Linked DNA regions of Homo sapiens: regions 1, 2 and 4 are each linked to region 3. The links are contacts of gene promoters, found by promoter capture Hi-C in human tissues and cell types (Jung and others, 2019). All regions are on one chromosome and are shown on one strand. The core of a region is centred on a gene start or on the middle of the fragment in contact, and the rest is flanking DNA. Distances in the headings are between cores, read along the strand shown. Region 1 overlaps HEATR4 (HEAT repeat containing 4). Region 2 overlaps DNAL1 (dynein axonemal light chain 1). Region 3 holds the start of FAM161B (FAM161 centrosomal protein B). Region 4 overlaps DNAL1 (dynein axonemal light chain 1).

The links. Contacts are between HindIII fragments. The study calls those that stand out against the background at their distance.
Region 1: a fragment that was not itself captured here is called in contact with the fragment with the promoter of FAM161B in region 3 in 1 of the 25 tissues and cell types used here (aorta).
Region 2: a contact is called between a fragment that was not itself captured here and the fragment with the promoter of FAM161B in region 3, in 1 of the 25 tissues and cell types used here (spleen).
Region 4: a fragment that was not itself captured here is called in contact with the fragment with the promoter of FAM161B in region 3 in 1 of the 25 tissues and cell types used here (mesenchymal stem cells).

The regions. Positions count from the first base shown.
Region 1 is chr14:73,483,487-73,486,589 of GRCh38, forward strand. The region is part of intron 17 of HEATR4 (HEAT repeat containing 4); the gene reads right to left. Among named protein-coding and RNA genes, the nearest start is that of RIOX1, 5.9 kb to the right of the region's middle. The HindIII fragment of the contact is 7,136 bases long and covers 1-3,103 here.
Region 2 is chr14:73,672,688-73,675,567 of GRCh38, forward strand. The region is part of intron 5 of DNAL1 (dynein axonemal light chain 1); the gene reads left to right. Among named protein-coding and RNA genes, the nearest start is that of DNAL1, 29 kb to the left of the region's middle. The HindIII fragment of the contact is 8,143 bases long and covers 1-2,880 here.
Region 3 is chr14:73,948,731-73,951,586 of GRCh38, forward strand. It overlaps FAM161B (FAM161 centrosomal protein B), which reads right to left and starts at 1,364. Exons shown (of 9, transcript NM_152445.3): 1 at 1,243-1,364. The coding sequence starts at 1,296. It overlaps COQ6 (coenzyme Q6, monooxygenase), which reads left to right and starts at 1,572. Exons shown (of 12, transcript NM_182476.3): 1 at 1,572-1,765. The coding sequence starts at 1,603. RefSeq lists enhancers at 1,254-2,254, 1,271-1,330. The HindIII fragment of the contact is 12,170 bases long and covers 1-2,856 here.
Region 4 is chr14:73,688,532-73,691,768 of GRCh38, forward strand. It overlaps DNAL1 (dynein axonemal light chain 1), which reads left to right. Exons shown (of 8, transcript NM_031427.4): 7 at 844-984. Among named protein-coding and RNA genes, the nearest start is that of PNMA1, 24 kb to the right of the region's middle. The HindIII fragment of the contact is 3,889 bases long and covers 1-3,237 here.

The DNA.
Region 1 (3,103 bases), core at 524-3,023, 460 kb before region 3:
TAGCTAAAACTACGTGTACCATCATGCCCCAACCCTCAATTTAAATACAGATTTTTGTTGCAGATGTGATGATGAAAAATAAATACTTTCAAGCACAATTGTATATTAGGATAAAATTCTGTGTGGAAGTTACTTCATAAAGGAAATGTGAGCGTTTTTTTTTAAGATGTAATTTTAATTTTAAAGAAGAGCTTACATATTTTATTTTTAAAATGGATGATGGTAGTTATCAAACTGTTATGGCATTTAGATTCAAATGGATGCATTTAAATTCAGTTTTGAACTTAAAATATCAATATGTAAAGCTGGAATACTTACATGTTTGAAATTAAACTCTGCTTCTATTTAAAATGAAAACATTTTAGATGTCAATTTTTTTTTTTTGAGACGGAGTCTCATCTCTGTCACCCAGGCTGTAGTACAGTGGCTCAATCTCAGGCTCACTGCAACCTCCGCCTCTCAGGTTCAAGCGATTATCCTGTCTCAGCCTCCCGAGTAGCTGGGATTACAGGCATGCACCACCATACCTGGCTAATTTTTCTTTATTTTCAGTAGAGACGGGGTTTTACCATGTTGGCCAGGCTGGTCTCAAACTCCCGACCTCAGGTGATCCACTTGCCTCTGCCTCCCAAAGTGCTGGGATTGCAGGCGTGAGCCATCATGCCTGGCCTCATTTTAGATGTCAATTTAAGAAGGTAAAGAGGTGACATCATTTTTCAAAATTATTTTATAGGTTATATGAGCAAGCAAAAGAGTTGGAAATTCAACATCCTAGATAGCATCTGTTACGACGTATAGCAAGACTCAGCCAATTTGTTCTGTAAAAGGCCAGATAGTAGATATTTCAGGCTTTTGGGGCCAGATGGCCTATTCAAACTGTGGTTTTTTGTTTGTTTGTTTGTTTGTCATTGAGAGGGAGTCTTGCCCTGTTGCCCAGGCTGGAGTGCAGTGGCGCGATCCTGGCTCACTGCAACCTCTGTCTCCCGCATTCAAGCAATTCTGGTGCCTCAGCCACCTGAGTAGCTGGGATTATAGGCACATGCCACCACACCCGGCTAATTTTTGTATTTTTTAGTAGAGACGGGGTTTCACTATGTTGGCCAGGCTGGTCTCGAACTCCTGGCCCCAAGTGATCCTCCCGCCTCAGCCTCCCAAAGTGCTGGGATTACAGGCATGAGCCACCACACCCAGCCTAAACTTTATATTAACATCCTAAAGTTAAACATGAAAATTCTTCTATAACAAATAATCCCATTGCCCAGAGGGAACTTCTTTCTGTCTTCAGTTTGGTTTATATCTTTCCAGATATTCAACTATGCAGGCAGACACACACACACACACACACAGACACACACACACACACACACACACACACATATATGGTTTTAAATAAATTTTACATAATGTAGGCTCATGCCTGTAATCCCAGCACTTTGGAAGGCTGAGGCAGGTGGATCACCTGAGGTCAGCAGTTTGAGACCAGCTTAGCCAATATGGTGAAACCTTGTCACTACTAAAAATAGAAAAATTGGCTGGGCATGGTGGCAAGCGCCTGTAATCCCAACTACTTGGGAGGCTGAAGCAGGAGAATCGCTTGAACCTGGGAGGTGGAGGATGCAGTGAGCCGAGATTGCACCACTGCACTCCAGCCTGGGTGACAGAGGGAAACTCTGTCTCAAAAAAGAAAAAAGAATAAAGAAAAGAAAAGAAAATTATATATAATGTATATTGGCTGCATTTTTTAAGCAAAAAATGGGACAACATATTGTTCTATAATTTGATTTTTTAACACGTTATAGACATTTCCTTGTCATTCCTTTAAATAACTATTGATTGGTAGATATTTGAGTAATTTCCAGTTTTGAAATTAAAAGCAACAACCATCTATGTGTAAATATCTTTGTACACATGGGTGAATTTTTTTTTTTTTTTTCGAGACAGGGTTTGGCTCTATTGCCCAGGCTGGAGTGCAGTGGCGCCATCTCAGCTCACTGCAACCTCTGCATCCCAGGCTCAAGCCATCCTCCCACCTTAGCCTCCCTAGTAGCTGGGACCACAGGTGTACATCACCATGCCTGGCTAATTTTTGTATTTAAAATTTTTCGGCTTGGCATGGCAGCTCATTCCTGTAATCCCAGCACTTTGGGAGGCCAAGGCAGTTGGATCACTTAGGGCAAGGAGTTCAAGACCAGCCTGGCCAACATGGCAAAACTCCATCTCAACTAAAAATACAAAAATTAGTTGGGCATCGTGGCACATGCCTGTAATCCAAGCTACTCAGGTGAGGCACAAGAATCGCTTGAACCTGGCAGGTGGAGGTTGCAGTGAGCCAAGATCACGCCACTGCATTTCAGGCTAGGTGACAAAGCAAGACTCTGTCTCAAAAAAAAAAAAAATGCTGATTTTTCATAGCAACAGCGTCTCACCATGTTGCTCAGGCTGGTCTGGAACTCTTGAGTTCAAGCAATCCACCTGCCTCAGCCTACCAAAGTGTTGGGATTATCGGTGTTAGCCACTGCACCTGGCCAGTGAATATTTTTTAAGGATAGATTTCTAGATGTAGAATTACTACTGGGTCAAAGATATCAAAATTTTGTATTGATGAATTGTCATCTAAAAGTTTTTACCAGGGTTTCTCAATCCTGGTACTATTGACATTTGGGCCCAGATACTCCTTGGTTATGGGGTTTCATTGTACATTGTAGAATGTTTTACAGCATCCCTCAATGCTAGTAGCACCCCCACTGTTGGACAACCAAAAATATCTCTAGATATTGCTAAATGACCCCTGGGGGTGCAAAATAGCCCCAGGTTCAGAACCACTGCCTCGGACATTTGCTTTCTTTTACTTTCCTTTTATTTCTCTTTCTCACCATCTCCCTTTCAACAACTCATGCTATCCTTCCTTCTTAAAGAAAAGAACTTATGAGGCTGGGTGTGGTGGCTCACGCCCGTAATTCCAGCACTTTGGGAGACTGAGGCAGGTGGCTTGCCTGAGTCCAGGAGTTCAAGACCAGCTTGACCAACATGGCGAAACCCCGTCTCTAGTGAAAATACAAAAATTAGCCGGGTGTGGTGGCCTGCGCCTGTAATCCCAGCTACT
Region 2 (2,880 bases), core at 87-2,586, 280 kb before region 3:
ACCATCAGATGAATTATTTGTTTTCTAATTGGATATGGTGAGTAAAATTCTTAATGATCTGTAAAAATTTGATTTTTTTTTTTTTTGAGACGGAGTCTTGCCCTGTCACCCAGGCTAGGGTGCAGTGACATAATATCAGCTCACTGCAACCTCCGCCTCCCGGGTTCATGCCATTCTCCTGCCTCAGCCTCCCGAGTAGCTGGGACTACAGGCGCCCACCACCACACCTGGCTAATTTTTTTGTATTTTTTTAATAGAGATGGGGTTTCACCGTAGTAGCCAGGATGGTCTCGATCTCCTGACCTCATGATCCGCCTGCCTCGGCCTCCCAAAGTGCTGGGATTACAGGCGTGAGCCACCACACCTGGGCAAAATTTGATATTTGTGATGTTCTAAATAAATTGGTAAGTTTAAGGATATTTAGCCTTCTGTCCAGTTTCTGAGCCTTAGATGGAAAAATTTCAAATATAGAGACATTGTGCATAAAGCGTAAAATATTAAATTGTAATACAGAAATTCAGAATTATTATATTTCAGGCTAAATGTAACTTTGAGTTATCTATAAAGAAATAGTTTGCAGATAAATGTACTCCAGAACTTTTAGTGTCAATATACTTGATGTTCCCCCAGGTATTTATAGAATCCCTTATAGAATCCCAAATTCTCAAGTATTACTATAGCATGTAATTTATTCCATAAAATGTAATAAATACCCAGAGACCACAAATAAATTATAAATATAGGATTAAAGGTATGTATTGTGTATTAAGATGCTATCTGGCTGAACTATCACTTGTTTTAGATATCGTCACTTTTTATACACTCCTATCAATGATAGCCAATAGTTGTTTTTCTTTCCAGGGTGTAATGTGGGGTTTTGTCCAAAAGCTTTATTGCTTATTTGCAGAATAAAGAAAAACAAAGCTATGGCTGGGCACAGTGGTTCATGCCGGTAATCTGGCACTTAGAAGGCCAAGGTGGGAGGATCCCTTGAGGCCAGGAGTTTACCTGGGCAACATAGCAAGACTTCGTCTCTACTGAAAATTTAAAAAGAAATTAGCCAGGCATGGTGGTACATGCCTATAGTCCCAGCTACTCGGGGAGGCTGAGGTGGAAGGATTGATTGCTTGAGCCTAGGAGTTTGAGTTTACAGTGAACTATGATTGTGCCATAGCAATGCAGTCTGGGTGACAGAGGGGAAAAAAAAAAGGAAAGAAAAAGAAAGCTGCATTGGGATGCAGATACTGGGTTTCTAATATGTTCACATACTAGATGACTTATTCATCTAGACACATCTGCCTCATAGCATGATTTAAATAGCTGTCTCAGTAAATTAAAAATGATTACTGTAATGTGTGAAACATGGAATGTTAAGTTGAAGGAAAGGGGTTGATTTATAACTATTCAGGAAAACTATTGAGGTACATTATAAACCCATTTGTATATATGATCTGGCCTTTGCCTTCCTTTCTGATCTCATTTCATGTTTCTCTTCTCCTAGTTGATAATCTCTAGTGACTGGCCTTCTTTCTGTTCCTTGACCATGCACAATTCATTCCCACCTGAGAATCTTTATACTTGGCTGTTCCCTCTGTCTTAAAAACTCTATTGCCATGGATTTCCACAATGCGGACCCCTTCTTAACCCTCACACTTCAGCTCAGATGTCACCTCCTCAAAGGTGACCCAATCACGATGTGGGCTCCTTCTTGATCTTTACACCTCAGCTCAGATGTTGCTTCCTCAAAGGTGACCCAATCACGATGTGGGCTCCTTCTTGATCTTTACACCTCAGCTCAGATGTTGCCTCCTCAAAGGTGACCCAATCACCGTATATCTAAAGCAGCTCTCTAAGCACTAATTCTTTTTGTTTTAGACGAGGTCTCACTCTGTCACCCAGGCTAGAGTGCAGTAGTACAATCACAGCTCATTGCAACCTTGACCTCCTGGGCTCAGGCCATCCTCCCACCTCAGCCTCCTGAGTAGCTGGGGCCACAGGTGTGTGCCATCATACCAAGCTAATATTTTAATTTTTTGTAAAGACAGGGTCCCACTATGTTGCCCAGGCTGATCTCAAACTCCTGGGCTTAAGCAATACTCTGGCCTCAGCCTGAGCTGAGTAATTCCAAAGTGCTGGAATTACAGGCGTGAGCCACCATGCCTGGTGGAGTAACTATTTTTTTGAGCCAGGGTCTCACTGTGTCGCCCAGGCTGGAGTGTCTCCTGGGCTCAAGCAGTCCTCCCGCTTCAGCCTCCCAAGTAGCTGTGACTAAAGACACACCTCATCACACTCAGCTAATTTTTTTGTATTTTTAGTAGGGGTCTCGCCATGTTGCCCAGGCTGGTCTTGAACTCCTGGGCTCAAGCAATCCACCTGCCTCAACCTCCCAAAGTGCTAGGATTACAAGCCTGAGCCACCACGCCTGGCTGAGTAACTCCTACCAGTTGTAATTTTATTTTTTCATGTTACTCATTATTACCTGAAATTCTTGTTCTTGTTCTCTCTCTCTCTCTCTCACACACAAACACACACACACACACACACAAATCCTAATGACCATTCAGTTTTGATTTTTGTTTGCTTAGAGACAGGTTCTCACTCTCTCACCCAGGCTGGAGTGCAGTGGCATGATTACAGCTCACTGTAATCTCGGACTAGTATAGTTTACTATAATCTTGAACTCCTGGGCTCCAGCAATCCTTGCTCCTCAGCCTCCTAAGAAGCTGGCACTACAGGTGGATAGCTGGGATTACAGGTGTGCACCACCTTGCCCAGCTAATTAAAAAAAAAATTTTTTTTTTGTAGTGATGGAGTCTTACTATGTTGTACAGGCTGGTCTTGAACTCCTGGCCTCAAGTGATCCTCTTGCCTCATCCTCCC
Region 3 (2,856 bases), core at 114-2,613:
CTTTAGTGGTCACTCCCTATTTCCCCTAACCCTCCACACCCCACCCCACCAGCCCTAAGCAACTGCCAATCTACTTTTTGCCTTTAATAGTTTGGGGTCCACCAGGTGCACTGGCTCACGCCTGTAATCCCAGCACTTTGGGAGGCCTTGGCTGGTGGATCACTGGAGGCACGCGCCACCACACCTGGCTAATTTTTTTTTTTTTTTGAGACGGAGTCTCGCTCTGTCGCCAGGCTAGAGTGCAGTGGTGCAATCTTGGCTCACTGCAACCTCCACCTCCCGGGTTCAAGTGATTCTCCTGCCTCAGCCTCCCGAGTAGCTAGGACTACAGGCGCGCACCACCATGCCCAGATAATTTTTTGTATTTTTTTGTTTGTTTGTTTTTGTTTTTGAGAGAGTTTTGCTCTTGTTGCCCAGGCTGGAGTGCAATGGCACAATCTCGGCTCACTGCAACCTCCACCTCCCAGGTTCAAGCAATTCTCTTGCCTCAGCCTCCCGAGTAGCTGGGATTACAGGCATGTGCCACCACGTCCAGCTAATTTTGTATTTTTTTTAGTAGAGACAGGGTTTCTCCATGTTGGTCAGGCTGGTCTTGAACTCCTGACCTCAGGTCCCAAAGTGCTGCATTACAGGAGTAAGCCACCGCACCCGGCCAATTTTTGTATTTTTAGTAGAGACGGGGTTTTGCCATGGAAACCAGCCTGGTCTCGATCTCTTGACCTCATGATCCGCTTTCCTTGGCCTCCCAAAGTGCTGGGATTACAGGCGTGAGCCAGCGCGCCTGGCCAATTTTTTTTTTTTTTTTAAATTTTTAGACGGAGTTTCACCATGTTGGCCAGGCTGGTCTCGAACTCCTGACCTCAGGTGATCCACCCGCCTCGGCCTCCCAAAGTGCTAGGATTACAGGCGTGAACCACCACGCCCGGCCAAATTTGGGGAGCAATTTTCTTAATCTCTTTGTGCCTCAGTTTTCTCTTCTACAAAAATGAGACGACAATTGTACTACTGGTCATAGAGTACTAAGAGGATAAGCGAAAACTGAGTGACATTGCCTATCAAGAGCCTCGTATAAAGTCCGAGAGGTTCAGGTCTGTAAGTCAGAGTCCGCCTCCTGGTCCCTAAACGCTCATTTTAATCCCACGCCCCTCCGTGACACGCCCCTGCTGTCTGTCTCCAAGGCAACGCCCAACAGTTTCCTCTCCGGGATTCCTTTCCCGGGGGCAGTCTCTTTTCTCTCCTCACCTGACGGCTCCCCTCCGCGCCTCCGGGGGCTCCCTCAGGCCTCCCCACGGTCATTTCAGCTGGACAGAGGCAGCAGCGACAGTGACAGCGATAGTGGCAGCAGCGGTGGCAGCGAGAGCTATGCGGGGCCAGGGTCCACCCCTTTCTAGCTTTGGCGTCTGGTTGGCTTCCAGGGCAGCCTCCGATCCATCCCGCCCGAGGAGGCAAGGTTCGTTTTCCGATTGGCCTATTTTCTCCGCGCATTTTATTTCCGGTTCTGAGGACGCCGCGGAAGCGGGACGGGATTGGAGTGCTCTGCTCCGGACGCACTACGTAGGTGGGCCTGCGGGAGTTCTGAGTGCGACGGCGCAGGTCTGCACCATGGCGGCCCGGCTTGTCAGCCGATGCGGGGCTGTGCGTGCAGCTCCCCACAGCGGCCCGCTGGTGTCCTGGCGCAGGTGGTCCGGCGCCTCAACAGACACCGTGTATGACGTGGTGGTGTCGGGTGGAGGCCTGGTGGGCGCTGCCATGGCCTGTGCCTTGGGTAAGCCCTTCTCCAGGCTACTAGTGGCCGGAAACCGGGCCGCGGAGGCACGATGAGAGCCGTGAGAGCCCTAGCACGACTTGCCCAAAGACAATTTCTCAGGTCTCGCGACGCTTCTCCCCTCCCCTCCTAGAGGAACCCCAGGGCACGCCGGAATGCGTGTGGTCCTTCAGGGTCCATTAGGGTCAAAAGTGGGAGGGGCGTTCAGAGTCTGTTCTACTCATGGGAAAACAGGCCTTCCCGGGGTTATTTATAAATGAGAGTTCCAGTTTCTCCAGATCCTGGACAGTACTTGTCATTGTCTTTTTGTTTATAGACATTCTAGTGGGTGTAAGTAAAGTGGGATCTCCAGGTTTTGACTTGTATTTCCCTAATGATTAATGATGTTGAATATCCTTTCATATGTTTATTGGTCATTTGTATATCTTCTTTAGAGAAATGCCTATTCAGACCCTTTGCCCGGTTTTTAATTGAGCAGTTTGTCTCTTGAATACTGTGGTAAGAGTTATTTTTATTTTTTGAGACAGGGTCTTCCGCTGTGCCCAGGCTGCAGTGCAGTGGCACGATCACGGCTCACTGTAGCCTCAACCTCCCTGGCTGAATTGATCCTCCTGCCTCTGCCTCCCAAATAGCTGGGACTGCAGGAATGCGCCACCACTCGGCTGATTTTTGTATTTTTTTGTAGAGACGAGGTCTCACTATGTTGCCCAGGCTGGTCTGGAACTTCTGGGCTCAAGCAATCCACCTGCCTCAGCCTCCCAAAGTGCTGGGATTACCGGCATAAGCAACCCTGCCTGGCCATTATTTTGTTTATTCTGTATAAGTCCCTTATCTGATAAATGACTTGCAAATATTTTCTTCCATTTTGTAGTCTTTTCACTTTTTTTTTTTTCCCTGAGATGGAGTTTCGCTCTTGTTGCCCAGGATGGAGTACAATGGCACGATCTCAGCTCACTGCAACCTCTGGGATTACAGGCTTGTGCCACCATGCCTGGCTAATTTTTGTATTTTTAGTAGAGACGGGGTTTCACCATATTGGCCAGGCTGGTCTCGAACTCCTGATCTCGTGATCCACCTGCCCCTTCCTCCCA
Region 4 (3,237 bases), core at 639-3,138, 260 kb before region 3:
AGAGTTGCTTTAACCCAGGAGACAGAGGTTGCAGCGAGTGGAGATGAAGCCATTGCACTCCAGCCTGGGTGACAGAAGGAGACTCTTTCTCAAAACAAAAAAAAGCAAAACTGTGTGATAAGTTCTGCAATACAGATTTGAATGTGTTGTTTTAAGAATTCAAAGATGAGGGAATGGGTACAGACAAAGGCAGGTTAGCTTAACCTACACTGATGCAGCACAGCATGAAGAAGACCTGTCACTGGAGAGTGATTTGTTCTTTTTGACTTTGAATCTCATCTCGTCTTATTTCATCCTTATGCTAGCATTTAAAGTAGAGAGGTATGTCTTCTTTTTCCCTCCCATCCTGTACTGTCTTCTGAGAATGACTTTATATGGTATAACTTTCCTAGCTTCCTTCAAAATCTTAAACAACTGATTGTCATGAATAGTCACAAACTGAGGGTTAATGATATTGGAATTTAATCCCCAAAATTGTAACAGTAAAACTTGCTGTTTTTTTTTTTTTTTTTTTTTTTTTGAGACAGAGTCGTGCTCTGTCGCTCAGTCTGGAGTGCATTGGTGCAATCTCTGCTCACTGCAACCTCCGTCTCCCGGGTTCAAGCAGTTCTCCTGCCTCAGCCTCCTGAGTAGCTGGGACTACAGGTGCCCACCACTATGCCTGGCTTATTTTTGTATTTTTAGTAGAGATGGGGTTTCACTGTGTTAGCCAGGATGGTCTCGATCTCCTGATGTCGTGATCCGCCCGCCTTGTCCCCCCAAAGTTCTGGGATTACAGGCGTGGACCACCGCACCCGGCCAAAACTTAGTGTTTTAATATGGAAAATATTCTTTTACTTGTAGCTGAGTTTGTGAAGCTGGCAGAACTGCCATGCCTCGAAGACCTGGTGTTTGTAGGCAATCCCTTGGAAGAGAAACATTCTGCTGAGAATAACTGGATTGAAGAAGCAACCAAGAGAGTGCCCAAACTGAAAAAGCTGGATGGTGAGTGATTCTGAGCTGGCTTAGACATATCTTCTAGGCATAAAAATGGAATTTGTGGCATGGAATCATGAAGAGGAGAAAAACTAAAGAAAAAATACCTCTGATCTTCCAGGTCATTTCTATCTATGTAAAATTGAATGGTCTAGGTTTGAGCCAAGGTGAGATGAAAAACTGCTAGGATATTTAGACTGGTACAAGATTCTCCCTAGACCAAAAGCTTATAAGAAAGCTAGGCCTGGCCGGGCATGGGTGGCTCACGCCTGTAATCCTAGCACTTTGGGAGGCTGAGGCGGGTGGATCACCGAAGGTCAGGAGTCTGAGACCAGCCTGGCCAACATGGTGAAACCCCATCTCTACTAAAAATATAAAAATTAGCCAGGCGTGGTGGCGGGCACCTGTAATCCCAGCTACTCGGGAGGCTGAGGCAGGAGAATCACTTGAACTCGGCAGGCGGAGGTTGCAGTGAGCTGAGATTGTGCCATTGCACTCCAGCCTGGGCAAAAAAGAGTGAAATTCCGTCTCAAAAAAAAAAAAAAGAAAAGAAAAGAAAGCTAGGCCTTATAAATCTACATGGAGCCAGTCACAGTGGCACGTTTCTGTAGTCAAGCTATTCAATGAGGCAAGAAGATTGCTTGAGGTCAGGAGTTTGAGACCAGCCTTTGCAATATAGTGAGAAAAACCCTGTATTTATTTTTAAAAAATTGTATATTTATTTTTTCCTGATATAAATTTCCTTCTGCTATGTTGGATTAAAGCTGGAATTATTCAGGGTTTGGTGCTGAGCCTCCTCCTTTTCTCACTCTTCCCTGTATCACAAGGAGGACACCCATGCAAGCAGTAAGAGAGAAGGAGCCTGGCCAGGTGCGGTGGCTCATGCCTGTAATCCTAGCACTTGGGGAGGCCAAGGCGGGCAGATCACCTGAGGTTGGGAGTTCGAGACCAGCCTGACCAACATGGAGAAACCCCATCTCTACTAAAAATACAAAATTAGCCGGATGTGGTGGTGCATGCCTGTAACCCCATCTACTCGGGAGGCTGAGGCAGGAGAATCGCTTGAATCCGGGAGGCGGAGGTTGTGGTGAGCCATGATTGTGCCACTACACTCCAGCCTAGGCAACAAGAGCGAAACTCCGTCTCAAAAAAAAAAAAAAGAGAAGGATCCTGACTTCCAGACAACATAAAGTTCCATGTCTATCTACTATCTACTTGTACTTTTATGTAAAAGAAAAATAAACTTCTAGCTCATTTAAGCAAGTTTAAAAAATAAAGAAAGTTAGGCTTATTCTCAAGTCAGAAAGGTAACACAAAGGTCACAAATTTTGATCAGAATCAAAAATTATTCTGATTCTGCAGAATAATTAGAAATACATGGTAAGCAGTTGCTTTTTTACAATTGGATCAAAATTGTGGTATTCTCTCTGTTTCTCCCCTCATCCCCAGTCTTAGTTTCCCAATATCTTAAGATCAGTGTCAGCATCAGTAGATAACCCTAATTAACTGAGTCAAGTCCCAGCTCCTCCACTTAATAGTTTGTGAAATTGTGCTAATTAATTAATCTCACCAAACCTTGTTCATTGGTAATCTAAAAACTGGAGATGATAATAGTATCATTAGTAATCATTTCAGAACATATATCAGAGTATTATTATGAGGATTAAATAAAATAATCTATGTGAAACAATGAACACATAGAGATAATCTACGCTAAACGTTGTGCTTAACATAAAGTAAGTATTCAAAATATATGTTATTAGCTGGGTGTGGTGGCTCACACCTGTAATCCTAGCACTTTGGGAGGCCGAGGTGGGAGGATCACTTGAGGTCAGGAGTTCGAGACCAGCCTGGCCAACATGGTGAAATCCTGTCTCTAGTAAAAATACAAAATTAGCTGGACCTGGTGGTGGGTGCCTGTAATCTCAGTTACTCAGGAGGCTAAGGCAGGAGAATTGCTTGAACCTGGGAGGCGGTGGTTGCAGTGAGCCAAGATGATGCCACTGCACTCCAGCCTGGGCAACAGAGTGAGACTCTGTCTCAGAAACAAAATAAAGAGTTATAATTATTTTAGATTTTAACTCAATCCCAAAATGCAAGTGTATAAGAAATATTTCAATATAAATCGACCTCATTTTGACTTTGAACACTACCTCCCCAATTCAATTCAGCTGGGCTGTTAAGAAATTCAGTCTGTCATTCTTTTTTTTAGAGTCTGGCTCTGTTGCCCAGGCTGGAATACAATGGCGCAATCTTGGCTCA